2 separate regions of the Homo sapiens genome follow, and region 1 is linked to region 2. Evidence: promoter capture Hi-C in human tissues and cell types (Jung and others, 2019). All regions are on one chromosome and are shown on one strand. The core of a region is centred on a gene start or on the middle of the fragment in contact, and the rest is flanking DNA. Distances in the headings are between cores, read along the strand shown. Region 1 overlaps DERL2 (derlin 2). Region 2 holds the start of RABEP1 (rabaptin, RAB GTPase binding effector protein 1).

What was found. Contacts are between HindIII fragments. The study calls those that stand out against the background at their distance.
Region 1: a contact is called between a fragment that was not itself captured here and the fragment with the promoter of RABEP1 in region 2, in 1 of the 25 tissues and cell types used here (aorta).

What each region holds. Positions count from the first base shown.
Region 1 is chr17:5,471,187-5,477,754 of GRCh38, reverse strand. It overlaps DERL2 (derlin 2), which reads left to right. Exons shown (of 7, transcript NM_016041.5): 7 at 2,966-6,501. The coding sequence ends at 3,071. Among named protein-coding and RNA genes, the nearest start is that of DHX33-DT, 5.4 kb to the right of the region's middle. The HindIII fragment of the contact is 6,926 bases long and covers 177-6,568 here.
Region 2 is chr17:5,278,491-5,284,917 of GRCh38, reverse strand. RABEP1 (rabaptin, RAB GTPase binding effector protein 1) reads right to left here and starts at 2,634. Exons shown (of 18, transcript NM_004703.6): 1 at 2,398-2,634. The coding sequence starts at 2,431. RefSeq lists an enhancer at 1-347 and a silencer at 2,195-2,914. The HindIII fragment of the contact is 8,494 bases long and covers 1-5,813 here.

The sequences.
Region 1 (6,568 bases), core at 2,390-4,889, 190 kb before region 2:
ACCTCATGGTTCATTCTAGCTTTTTTCCTATTGGTTTCCTCCAATATTTTATTATGAAAATTAACAAACTTATAGGAAATCAGAAAAAAATTGGAGTGAGCTTCATGTAGCCACCACATAGATTCTGTAATTAATAGTTCCCTATTCTTATTGCACACCTATCCCTACATCTAGCTTTCCAATCCAAAATGTATGTGCCATTATATGTATACTTAATTCCTTGTATACTTGAGTGTGCATATCAGTAACTAGAGTTTAGTATTTATGTGCAACAAAATACACAAATCTTGAGTGTGTCAACTGAGTTTTTATAAATGCACACATCTGTGTATCTATCAAGACAGAAAATTACCATCAACCAGAAAGTTCCCTGATGTCCTTCCCTGTCAATCATTGTACCTGTCCCCCAAGAAGCAATTGCTATTCTGGTTTTGTTCCTCTGTAGATTAGTTTTTCATGTTCTACAACTTCATGAGTAGAATTGTACAGTATGCATGTACTCTTTGGTATAAGGCTTCTTTCATTCAACATAATGTTTTTGAGACTCATCTGTGTTCTTGTATTTATTGGTAATTTGTTCCTTTTTATTGCTGAATATTATTTGGTTGTATGAATGTACCACTCCTTTCCATCTGCCCTTTCCATCTGTCCTAACCTGATTCTTATTATGATTAATGTTTTACCTACCTAATTACCCCTCATATGTAACCAGTCTTTCGGGATAGTCTCCACCTCTCCCATATGGATGCCTTGCTTATCTCACTCACCCTCAGATTCCCCAGACCAGGCTGCCCTCTTACAGGGATGCCTCCCCATCCTACTCGGGCTAACATCTCGTCAGGCCACCTCCATGTGTGCATGGTCTGATGGGGCTCTTGACTCCCTATACCAGGCTGTGCCCCCACCCCCATCCTGCTAATGTTTGGGCAGTAGAAGGGATCTCAGTTTTGTTTTTGTTGTCGTTGCTGTTTTTTGAAACGGATTCTTGCTCTGTCACCCAGGCTTGAGTGCAGTGGCTCAATCTCGGCTCACTGCAACCTCCGCCTCCTGGGTTCAAGCGATTCTCCTGCGTCAGCCTCCCTAGTAGCTGGGATCATAGGCATGCGCCACCACACCCGGCTAATTTTGTATTTTTAGTAGAGATAGGGTTTTGCCATGTTGGTCAGGCTGGTCTTGAACTCCTGACCTCAGGTGATCCACCCTCCTCGGCCTCCCAAAGTGCTGGGATTACAGGCATGAGCCACCACACCTGCCGGGATCTCAGTTTCTAATATACTTTCCTTTGATTATTGTGAGAGCAAACATTCTCACGTTTATTGACCACATGGATTTCCTTTTTGAATTGCATATTCAGCCCTTTGCCCATTTTTTCTGTTGGTATGTTTGTTTTTATTGTTAATTTGTAAGAATTTTAAAAACTCATTTTGAATTATACTATTTTCTGACTCCAGTATAAATCAGAAGTTTTCAGATACATTTCTAATTTTATCAACTGTGGAGGATTACAAGTAGAAATATAAGTGCAAATTGAGGATGCTGCTTTAATGGTTCCTTCTTTAGTGAGGTTTTGAATTACTACATCATAGTACTTAGGGAGTCTTTTGGACATTTACTATCCCCTCCTATGTTCTGCAGTAATTTTTCTTGGGATACCTTGTTAATTTTTTAAAAATTTTGTGGTAAAATAATACCTAACATAAAATTCACCATCTTAACTCATTTTAAATGTTCAGTGGCATTAAGTATATTCATACTGTTTTGCTGCCATCACCACCATCCATAGAACTCTCTTCATCCTACAGAACTACAACTCTGTACTCATTAAACAACTCCCCACCCCAGCCATCACCATTCTATTTTCTTTCTCTGAATTTGACTACTCTGTACCTAAGTGGAATCATACAATATTTGTCCTTTTTTGTCTGGCTTATTTCTTATTTCATTTAGCGTAAAGTCCTCAAGGTTCATCCATGTTGTACCATGTGCCTGAATTTCCTTCCTTTTTTTTGAGACAGTCTTGCTCTGTCGCCCAGGCTGGAGTGCAATGGAGCAGTCTCAGCTCACTGTAACCTGTGCCTCCCAGGTTCAAGTGATTCTTCTGCCTCAGCCGCCTGAGTAGTAGCTGGGATTACAGGCATGCGCCACCACGCCAGGCTAATTTTTGTATTTTTGGTGGAGACAGGGTTTCACCATGTTGACTAGGTGCAGTGGCTCATGCCTGTAATCCCAGCATTTTGGGAAGCCGAGGCAGGCAGATCACCTGAGTTCAGGAGTTCGAGACCAGTCTGGCCAACATGATGAAAACCTTCCCTCCTAAAAATACAAAAATCAGCCGGGCGTGGTGGCGGGCGCCTGTAATCCCAGCTACTCGGGAGGCTGAGGCAGGAGAATTGCTTGAATCCGGGAGGCGGAGGTTGCAGTGAGCCGAGATCGCACCATGGCACTCCAGCCTGGGCGACAGAGTGAGACTCCCGTCTCAAAAAAAAAAAAAAAAAATTCTATTATATGTGTGTACCGTATTTTGTTTATTCACCTGTTGATGCACACTTGGGTGATACCTTGGTTATGGGGAAACATTAATGATAAATATGTGAAAGTCAGGTTACAAAACATGTAGTGTGATCTAACTTTTGTAAAATGACATAATGTAAAAATTCCCAAAGAATAACTAAAACATTGACAATAGTTACCTCTGGAAATTGAGGATATTTTGCTCATCTCTATTTCCTCCTTCTCTGTAATTATTATGATTTGGATTGCTTTTGTAGTAAAAATCAGTAAAAGATAAAAGCTAATGTAAATGTTAATAATTATAGATGCTCTTACAATATGTTAACTGTTTAATTGGCAGGCAGGTGTAATGCTTACCTATTGGTGGAAACCCTATGGGGCCTGAACTGACCTTGTAGTACTTTGGACCTGAGATGACTCTGGGACCAAATTATATCTGTTGCTTGTCTTTTAGGAAAGCTATTTTTGATACACCAGATGAGGATCCAAATTACAATCCACTACCTGAGGAACGGCCAGGAGGCTTCGCCTGGGGTGAGGGCCAGCGGCTTGGAGGTTAAAGCAGCAGTGCCAATAATGAGACCCAGCTGGGAAGGACTCGGTGATACCCACTGGGATCTTTTATCCTTTGTTGCAAAAGTGTGGACACTTTTGACAGCTTGGCAGATTTTAACTCCAGAAGCACTTTATGAAATGGTACACTGACTAATCCAGAAGACATTTCCAACAGTTTGCCAGTGGTTCCTCACTACACTGGTACTGAAAGTGTAATTTCTTAGAGCCAAAAAACTGGAGAAACAAATATCCTGCCACCTCTAACAAGTACATGAGTACTTGATTTTTATGGTATAAGGCAGAGCCTTTTCTTCCTCTTCTTGATAGATGAGGCCATGGTGTAAATGGAAGTTTCAGAGAGGACAAAATAAAACGGAATTCCATTTTTCTCTCACTGTATTAAAGCTTTTGTGTGTGATCTTTTAAATTCTGATAATGTATTGTAGCCCTCCTGCGTAGATCTGAGCTCAGAACAGTTTACACAGCTGTTCTTCCTGTGTCTTCACAACTTTTAACTGGATTTCATTTCAGGATTGGAAATACGTGGCTGTCATGCTGTGGTTGTGTACATCTTACTAACTCAGAATGCAAGATTCAGCAGGAAGATGATTTATTTCTGTCATCTGGATAGGTTGTTTTGCATCTGGGTTTTGCCAAACTTTGTCAGACAACATGAAAAAAAAGGAGGGAGGATGGTTCTTGTAGCAGTAGGAATTCAGCTATAGGAAAGTCAGCTGTAAGCTAATGTGGCATCTTATTTGCTTTACTTACATTTCTCCATTAAGAAGTATCCAGGGAAAGATTGGTAAGGGCCACATTTTTGTAAAACTAGGAAGATTTTCATTAGACTTTTTTTTTCTTTTATTTTTAAAAAAGTTTTAATTAAAAATTTTTTTTTAAATACAGATGGGGTCTCACTGTGTTGCCCAGGCTGGTCTTGAACTCCTGGACTCAAGCAATCCTCCCACCTCAGCCTCCCAAAGTGCTAGGATGACAGGCATGAGCCACCATGCCCAGCCATTTTTTTTTTTTTTGCCTTTTTTGTTTTGTTTTGTTTTTTGTTTTTTTAATTAAAAAAAAAAAATAGAGACAGGGTCTCAGATTTTCATTAGATTTGGAAACCAAGTTAGAATGTTGACTTTGGAGCCAGACGAACAGATACCAGTTAGCTAGGCATATGTTCTTCCAGGGTCTTTGGCTAGTTAACATTAGTCATTTGCTTCGTGAAAATTCAAGAACCTTTTCAGAGCCAAGTACCTGGATTACCTTCCCAATCAGGTAGAAATTAGACAGGGTCCACAGAAGTAGACACTTAATGCTGTGGTTCAATAAATACTTCCCCTAAATATTAAGTCTTCCCTGAGTCTCAGCAGGTTTGCATTCACACTGCTTAAGTAACTTCCAGAACCTGGAAGAGTCGAAAGAGCACCCCTAGGAAAGAGATGATTCCAAACAGCTTTCATTAACGGCATGTAGGCACAGGTCCCTTTCCCAAAAGTGGATTGTTAGTAGTAGTTCATTCAACCTTTGTTAAGGGGTAGCTTTCCAGAATGTGACATTGTCCTCAGAAAGATAGACATAGGCTTAAACATAATGGACATCCTAAATAGGAATTTTCAGATTGTTTTTGAAGTGAAAAGTGTTTTAATGTCTTTAAATGGAATTGCATAACTAATGGTATTTAAGTATTTTACATGTTGCTAATAACTTTGAATATGATTGTTGCAATTTTATGGAACCTGGGTCTATGGGACTGCTTTTTAAGCAGTTTAAAAAAGGTTTTCAAAGTTTAAAAGCCAATCTTAGCATGTATAATCCTTATGGGATTCTTAAGTTTTATCCTATCTTGTTTTTGCTCAAGAACGCTTTATCAGTGACGTTTGTTAGAATTTTGTTTTTTGTTTTTTTTTTTTAAATTGTTTTTGGGCTAGAAATGAGTTTCTCTAGTTTTATTTGTTCTCCCTGAGTTGGAGTTATGCAATGAATGGCATTTTTGTGGTAAAATACTAATCCTAAAATCTGTTAACTCACTGTTCATTTAAGTAGGGAATATCTGTATACATTAATGACTAGGTAAAACAGGAAATACATTTTGAATATACAGCCTAAAGGCAGGCAGTTACAGGGTTTTTGATTTCTCCGATTTTATAGGGTGCAAGTTCCCAGTGGCAGGATGCCCTGCTGTGTGACTGACTACACTGTGTCCTGAGCAGTGGTAATTTCAATCACCTCTCATCAGTTTGGCCAGCCCTACAACCACCATTCCTAGCCCTGTGTTGCTTGACAGGATACCTGTGCTTGAATGGACATAAGGAAAAGTCCTTACTTTCTCCCCAATTTACCTCTCAATCTTAGTTCTTCCAGAACACACTTCCCTTTCACAATGCAAATAAACTGAAAGTGAGATTTGATACATGGAATTTTGAGACCAACCAACTAACCTTACACATAATTTGAGGGATTCCTGGATTCTTCTAGTGATACTGAAAAGCACACTTGACTAAAGCATAGTGTTTTTTGTTTGTTATGGAAATACGGTATACGTTCATTTAAAAATAAATGGACATACAAATTGCATCTCCTTAGGAGATACATTTTATATACATTTCGGTGCGTTTTTTTCCAGTATGGATTTCTATTTGTTTCTCTCTTCCTCTTGTTTTTTCTGTGTCACTCTTGTATGTCCTCATATCTTTCATACCTCTTGTGTAGTCTCTAGAAGCAGAACACCTAAGTCCTGGGTCTGGATAATGAAACCCTCAGTCTCTGGGGCCTCTGAAAATAAGGAAGCATTGGAGCTATTGCCATGTTGAGTAATGGGCTTCCTAGAACTATTGTCATCTATCCTGCCAGTGTTTTATGTTGTAGCTGTTTTTCTTTGACAGGTGAGTTCCAGCTATGTTGTTAGTCATGATCCTGCCATTATTTTCTGTGTTCTGTAGGATGTCTCCAGGCTACTTAAACATATTTTATGAGTTTGCAATAAAATTGTTGAATCTTGTATGATCAAGTCACTCCTCTGCTCAGAAATCCACAGTGACTTCTTAGTAAGCCCCTACATTATATGCATACTTGTTTTTTTCTTAACTTTACTCCCACTTCTACCTAACAGGGACCTCAACTTAAGTCTCTTCAGTTCTTCAAGGCCTGGCCTTGTTCCTGATTCCTCAAAAAATCTTGACTCTAAGGCCTATTTTATTGTCTGTCTCTGAATCCCTATAAAGCTTCAAGTCTGTATGACATTCTTAACGCCAAATTATATATTGTCTTGTACTGTTCCTAGCTGGTACATGTATATTAGTCTTGTCTCCCTCATGAGAATGTAAGCTCCTTAAGGGCAGGGACCATGTCTTAATTTTTGTATCCACCACAGTGCCTAGCACAGTGCTTGGCACATGGGTGCTGAATAAATACCTTTGTTTATTGATCAGCAAAGTATTATCTGGTATTTTTAATTATAGAGGGATTAAAGTGTATGCATGCAAGCTTGAGCCTAGTTGCT
Region 2 (6,427 bases), core at 1,385-3,884:
TAAGCAGTTAGTTATCTTTCACCACCAGTTTGACACAAAAGAATTCTGGCGATTTTTTTTTTTTTTAATCAGCAGGACTAGGAAATTCAAACGTGCCTAAAGCTAAAATGGTCTACATGAGTTCAGCTAAAGACACAAATTAAATCCCCAAAAGCCGGACTCACGGGCTCACACCTACAATCCTAGCACTTTGGGAAGTGTAGGCAGGTGGATCCCTTGAGTTCAGGAGTTTGGGACCAGCCTAGGCAACATGGCAAAACGCCGTATCTACAAAAATACAAAAATTAGCTGGGAATAGTGGCATGCACCTGTAGTCACAGCTACTTGGGAGGCTGAGGTAGCAGGATTGCTTTGACCCCAGGAGGTCGAGGCTGCAGTGAGCCAAGATCGCGCCACTGCTCTCCAGCCTGGGCAACAGAGTGAGATACTGTCTCAAAGAAAAAAAAAAAAATTAAAATCCCCAAGATGAACTTCTAAGGCACTGACACAAGGCACTCAAACGTACCAAATTATCTCTCTCCTACTGTAAAAAGTAGCCATGGCTACCTACATTAATTTAAAATAAAAATTGCAATCTATGCAAACTAAATCTCATCCTAGAGTCACAAGATTTGAGAAATAGGAAAGAAACCTGAACTAAAATACCAAGAATACAAGATTTCCTAAAGCTAGTTTTCCCTAGCCTCGTTCAAGTGCTTAGTCACTTCTGCCTATTTACAAGGAAGACCATTTCATATCTTCAAAGAGGCAGGGAATTTTGATTCCAGACGGTCATGTCACCTGAGCTGCCCTAGACGTTTCTTTCCATGCAACTCAAGAGAAGGCAGCAGCCAGCTATGCATACCTACCACTCCTGTTCAGAACCACAAGCTCTCTGTATCTTGCCTCTGTGTGCAGTAACAAAGTGGGATTGTGGAAGAACAAAGTTTTCTTGCCTGACACCAAATGCAAAAGGTGATCATTAAAATGCAGCCTGAAGACATCCCAGTTTCCTCTCTCTGACAGCCCACCAAAAATGCTTCCCTTCCCTTCTCCTGGAACAGAAACAGCAAAGCAGGTTCTTATAAAAGTCTAAATGCTTACTGGACATCTCCCCTTAGGCAAGCAACAACACCCAAAACTACAGGCTAACAGGCTCTGAAGCACATTTCCCAGAGAGCAGCCAGAACCTTAAAATCTGATAACATGGTTTCAAGTTCCCCAAAGGCAAAAATAAAAAGTAAGGGTTTCACGAAAGGTTATTTTGAGACAACCCCAAGGAAAGCCAAGTTTTAAAGTACCTACTCCGTACCAAGCCCCTTTTCCCAACATTCTACTCTACTCACACTTAAAGATGCTAAGCACACACGCTGATTATAGAAATACACCAGAAAGTACTTTCACAACTAGATACAGTGGGACCTTGGAAAAGCCCAAGCACACTATTTCCAAACATCTATTCTAGGTGGTAAAACCTGGAACCATGTAGTCAATCTGTGAAGCACAGCTTAGTCCAATTTCCCAGAAGGTCACGAAGGGCTCTGACAACCAACTTTGATTATTTAGGATGGGGCCCTTTTTTCCTTCCAAGAATATAAATGACACATTTCTTCGACTTCACTTTTTTTTTTTTAGTTCCACAAGCAAATATCTTCAAGTAGTGCAAGTAGGCCTCAGCATTCTCAAACACTATTCTCATTATTCCTAATACCTCCATAATACTATTATTGTATATACACATTCGTGTTGCTATTTTTATAGATAAAATATAAAGGCATGAATTAACCTCTTGGTTAATTCGTGGGTGAGAATACTGAGGCTCAACGAGGCTAAGAAATGAGCCCAGAGCTTGCTGGTTAAGAATACAGGTCCTCTAGACTCCCAGGCCCCAACACTTAACCATTAAGCCACACTGCCATTCAGGGAATGCTACTAAATCCAGTTACTGTACACAACTACTTTCAGGTCACATAACTGGGTGCAAAGAGTTCTATAGCAAGGATTGGGGCGGCAGGGAGGGTACACTACCTAAGCTAAGATTTTTTTTCTTTAACGAATATAGCACATGTTCCCGATTTCCATCCTCCCCCACGGGCAGAACCCACGTGCCGGTCCCCCGCTACCCAGAACCGCTCCCTCCCCACACTACCCCACGCTACCCAGCAGCCTCCCCACGCCCTTCCCTCTGCCCTCCCGCAAGCGCTGCACCCGCGCCTCCCGCCCCCTCCCCAGCGACGGCAGCCGGGGCGCCCGCGCCGCCCTCGCGCGCCGCAGCCCGCGCGCCCCCGCCTCCGCCCGGCGGGGTCACCCCCGGGGCCTGCGCGCGCCCTTGCCGCCGCCTGCCCGCCCCGAAATCCTCCCGCGACGCCGACGCCGGGCAGGCCGCGCCCGCCGCGCCTGCCATGGTGGGCGCCTCACCGTCAGGCTGGGAAGCCGGGCCCGGCTGCGCCATGACCAGGCGGCCGGCCTCGGGGAGCGGGGATGGGCGGGGAAGCGGCGTCCTGGGCTCCCGCGGGCTCAGCTGGCGGAGGAGGCGTCAACCGAGCCGCCGCCGCCGCCGCCCAGAGAGAAACCGCTAAGGCTGGATCCGCCGGCGCCGCCACAGCCGCGGGCAGAGACGGACCCGACCGCCGACCTCCGCCTCCTCATCCTGACAGCGGGAAATAAGCAGTGCGCAGGCGCAGGGGGATGGGGCGGCACGTGACGTTGGCCCGAGGGGAGGGGCGGGGCCTCGGGAGCGCGGAGGGAGCGCGGAGGGAGCGCGGAGGGAGCGCGGAGGGAGCGCGGAGGGAGCGCGGAGGGAGCGCGGAGGGAGCGCGGAGGGAGCGCGGAGGGAGCGCGGCGGGAGGGGAGGGTTTCGGCGGAGCTGGGCGCCTGACCCAGCGGCGCGGGGAGGCTGAGTGCCGAGCGGAGCTGGAGAAGAGGGGCTGCAGCAGAGGCCTGGCCTCTCGAAGGTGCCGGTCCCGGTTCTCCACCCCAGCACAGTGAGGGGAAAAAAAAAAATGAGTAAGAGAGGAGGACCGATGGCGGGGTGCAGTTCCAGCCTCTACCTCTTCTAGCTTTGCGACCTTGGGAGAGTCACTTCACCTCTTGGAATTTTTATCAATATAATGGCTAAGAAAAGTTTAAACGAGGTAATAAAGTATGAAGAACTGTTTCCGACAGTACTGGGCCTGGACCCCAGGTCTTCTGGTGCAGAGGCCAGTATACTATCCATTCAGCAAATACGTTTGGGTTTTCAGTCGTGATAGATGCTGGAGATACAGCCAGGTACAGACCCTGCACTCATGGCAGGAAAGGAGAAATCATATACACAAAGTGTGGCCCTTATACTTGGGCCCCTGGGCCCTATACTTTAGGAACTCCCCTCTAATCACCACTCCCCGTCTGATTTCGACACCTGGAGTGCCCCATGCCAAGGAGGTAGTTTAAAAAGCTTTTTTTTTTTTTTTGGAGATAGAGTCTCACTCTGACACCCAGGCTGGAGTGCCATGGTGCGATCTCGGCTCACTGCAACCTCTGCCTCCCGGGTTCAAGCAATTCTCCTGCCTCAGCCTCCCGACTAGCTGGGACAACAGGCGCACGCCACCACACCCGGCTAATTTTTGTATTTTTAGTAGAGACGGGGTTTCACTATGTTGGTCAGGCTGGTCTCAAACCCTTGACCTCGTGATCCGCCTGCCTCAGCCTCCCAAAGTGCTGGGATTACAGGCGTGAGCCACCGCGCCCGGCCTAAAAAGCTATTTTGAAATCAGAGAGGAGCATCAGGAATTATGTACATTTTAAGACCCAGCAATCCCACCCCAGGATGAGGGAGTCCACAGGGTTTGGCACTTCAGGACCAAGTTCTGAATACTTGTGGCCCCAGAATTCCCTTTCCAGATGGCTGAAGCTGTGGTCTCTTTCCCAGATCCATTCTCTCTATGGCAGAGTCTAGACATCCCTAAAAGAAGCTAAAGTGAAAGCATAAAGAATGAGTTCATGTCCTTTGCAGGGACATGCATGAAGCTGGAAACCATCATTCTCAGCAAACTAACACAGGAAAAGAAAACCAAACACCTCATGTTCTCACTCATAAGTGGGAATTGAATAATGAGAACACATGGACACAGGGAGGGGAACATCACACACCGGGGCCTGTGGGGGGTGGGGGGAAGGGGAGGGAGAGCATTAGGACAAATACCTAATGCATGCGGGGCTTAAAACCTAGATGACGGGTTGATAGATGCAGCAAACCACCATGGCACATGTATACCTATGTAACAAACCTGCACGTTTAGCACATGTATCCAAGAATTTAAAGTATAATAAAAAAATAATAATAGGCCGGGCACAGTGGCTCACGCCTGTAATCCCAGCACTTTGGGAGACTGAGGCAGGTGGATCACGAGGTCAGGAGTTCAAGATCAGCCTCTCCAAGATGGTGAAACCCCATCTCTACTAAAAATACAAAAAATTAGTCGGGTGTGGTGGCAGGCGCCTGTACTCCCAGCTACTCGGGAGGCTGAGGCAGAGAATTGCTTGAACCCAGAAGGCGGAGGTTGCAGTGAGCCAAGATCGCACCACTGCCAGCCTGGGCGACAGATCGAGACTCCATCTCAAATAATAATAATAATAATCAGAAAATCCACTAATTAGAATCAGTTTCTACTTTCTTTAAATCATTTGTTTTAAATAAGGTATACTTTTATTAAAATGATTATTTCTCACTGAAAAAAAGGGAGGCTAAAGGGCAGCTTTGTTTTATTTTAAGGGGGTGACACGACACTTGGGTGTTTGAGCTCCTATGTCCACAGATCCCTCATGGTGCAGGACAGAGGTGAGAAAAGAAGGCAAGTGAGCCAAGAGACAATAGTTGGGCCAGGGCCTGTGCTGCTTTCGCCACCTCATTCATGGGCATAACTCCCAGGAGCCCAGGAATTCTAAATTTAAACCTGGTCTTCCAGGTCTTAAACAGGTAGATTTGTCCAAGTAGAAGGATAGACTGTATTAAGGTTAGCGGTTAATTGGAGTAGTTTGTAATTTTATTTTATTTTATTATTTATTTAATTTTTGGAGACGGAGTCTCTCACTCTATTGCCCAGGCTGGAGGGCAGTGGCACCATCTCAGCTCACTGCAACCTCCACCTCCCGGATTCCAGTGATTCTCCTGCCTCAGCCTCCTGAGTAGCTAGGATTATAGGCGTGTGTCACCACGCCCAGTTAACTCTTGTAATTTTAGTAGAGACAGGGTTTCACCATGTTAGCCCGGCTGGTCTTGAACTCCTGACCTCAAGTGATCTACCCACCTCGGCCTCCCAAAGTGCTGGGATTACAGGTGTGAGCCACCACGTCCAAACTGGTTTGTAATTTTAAATAATTTAGGTATCTATTTGTACTTTTGCCCCAGGTCCTGCCATCGTTAGAGGAGAGCCAAAATACAGACTCGAGTTTTTTGAGCAGTTAATGTCTCCCAAATGGCTGGTGTGCATTTGAGAGAGCAAGCAGGGTCTCCCCAACACCCTGCCCAACCCCCCATAAATGATTTTCCTGGATGAGCAAATCCATGCTTACCAGGAAGACCTTTGGCCAGGATAGGGCAGCCCAGTGCATCCTCTGTATTGTTGTGATGACTAACACGAGGCATAAGCCATAAAGATAGCAGATGCGGCCAGGTGTGGTGGCTCACGCCTGTAATCCCAGCACTTTGGGAGGCCGAGGCGGGCAGATCATTTGAGGTCAGAAGTTCAAGACCAGCCTGACCAACATGGTGAAACCCTGTCTCTACTAAAATACAAAAATTAGCCAGGCGTGGTGTTGGGCACTTACAATCGGGAGGCTGAGGCAGAATTGCTTGAACCCAGGAGGTCCAGAGGTTGCAGTGAGCCAAAATTGCACCACTGCACTCCAGCCTGGGCGACAGAGCAAGACTCCCTCTCAAAAAAAAGAAATAAATAAAAATAAAATAGAAGGGGCTCCTTCCAGTGAGAGAGTGGCAAATTTGTTGCCATTGATAATGAGGCTTGAAGCCAGGCCCTCAAGTCAAGGTCCCTCAGAAATGGTCAGGCATATGATTTGGACACCTAGGGCTCTCCATGTGAGGGAAGTAGTTAAAAAGCCATTTTGAAATCAGATAGGAGCATCAAGAATATTGAACATTTTCGTATTTTTAGGTAAACCTTAAGACCCAGCAGTTCCACCCCTAGGAATATATTTTAGGAAAACAAATGTATGCTCAAAGTCTTTACTAAGTATAAAAGATGTGATTCTTATGTTCTGAAGGAAATTGGGAATAAGACATAAACACATGAAATAATTAGTTACCAATGACATTGCCCATGTGCCCCAGGAGACACACGAATATTCACAGTGGCATAGTTCATAATACGATAAATAAAGGACTCATATGTTCATCAACAGTGGACTAGATTTTTAAAAAGTTTTAACATACAGGGCATCATGGCGGGTG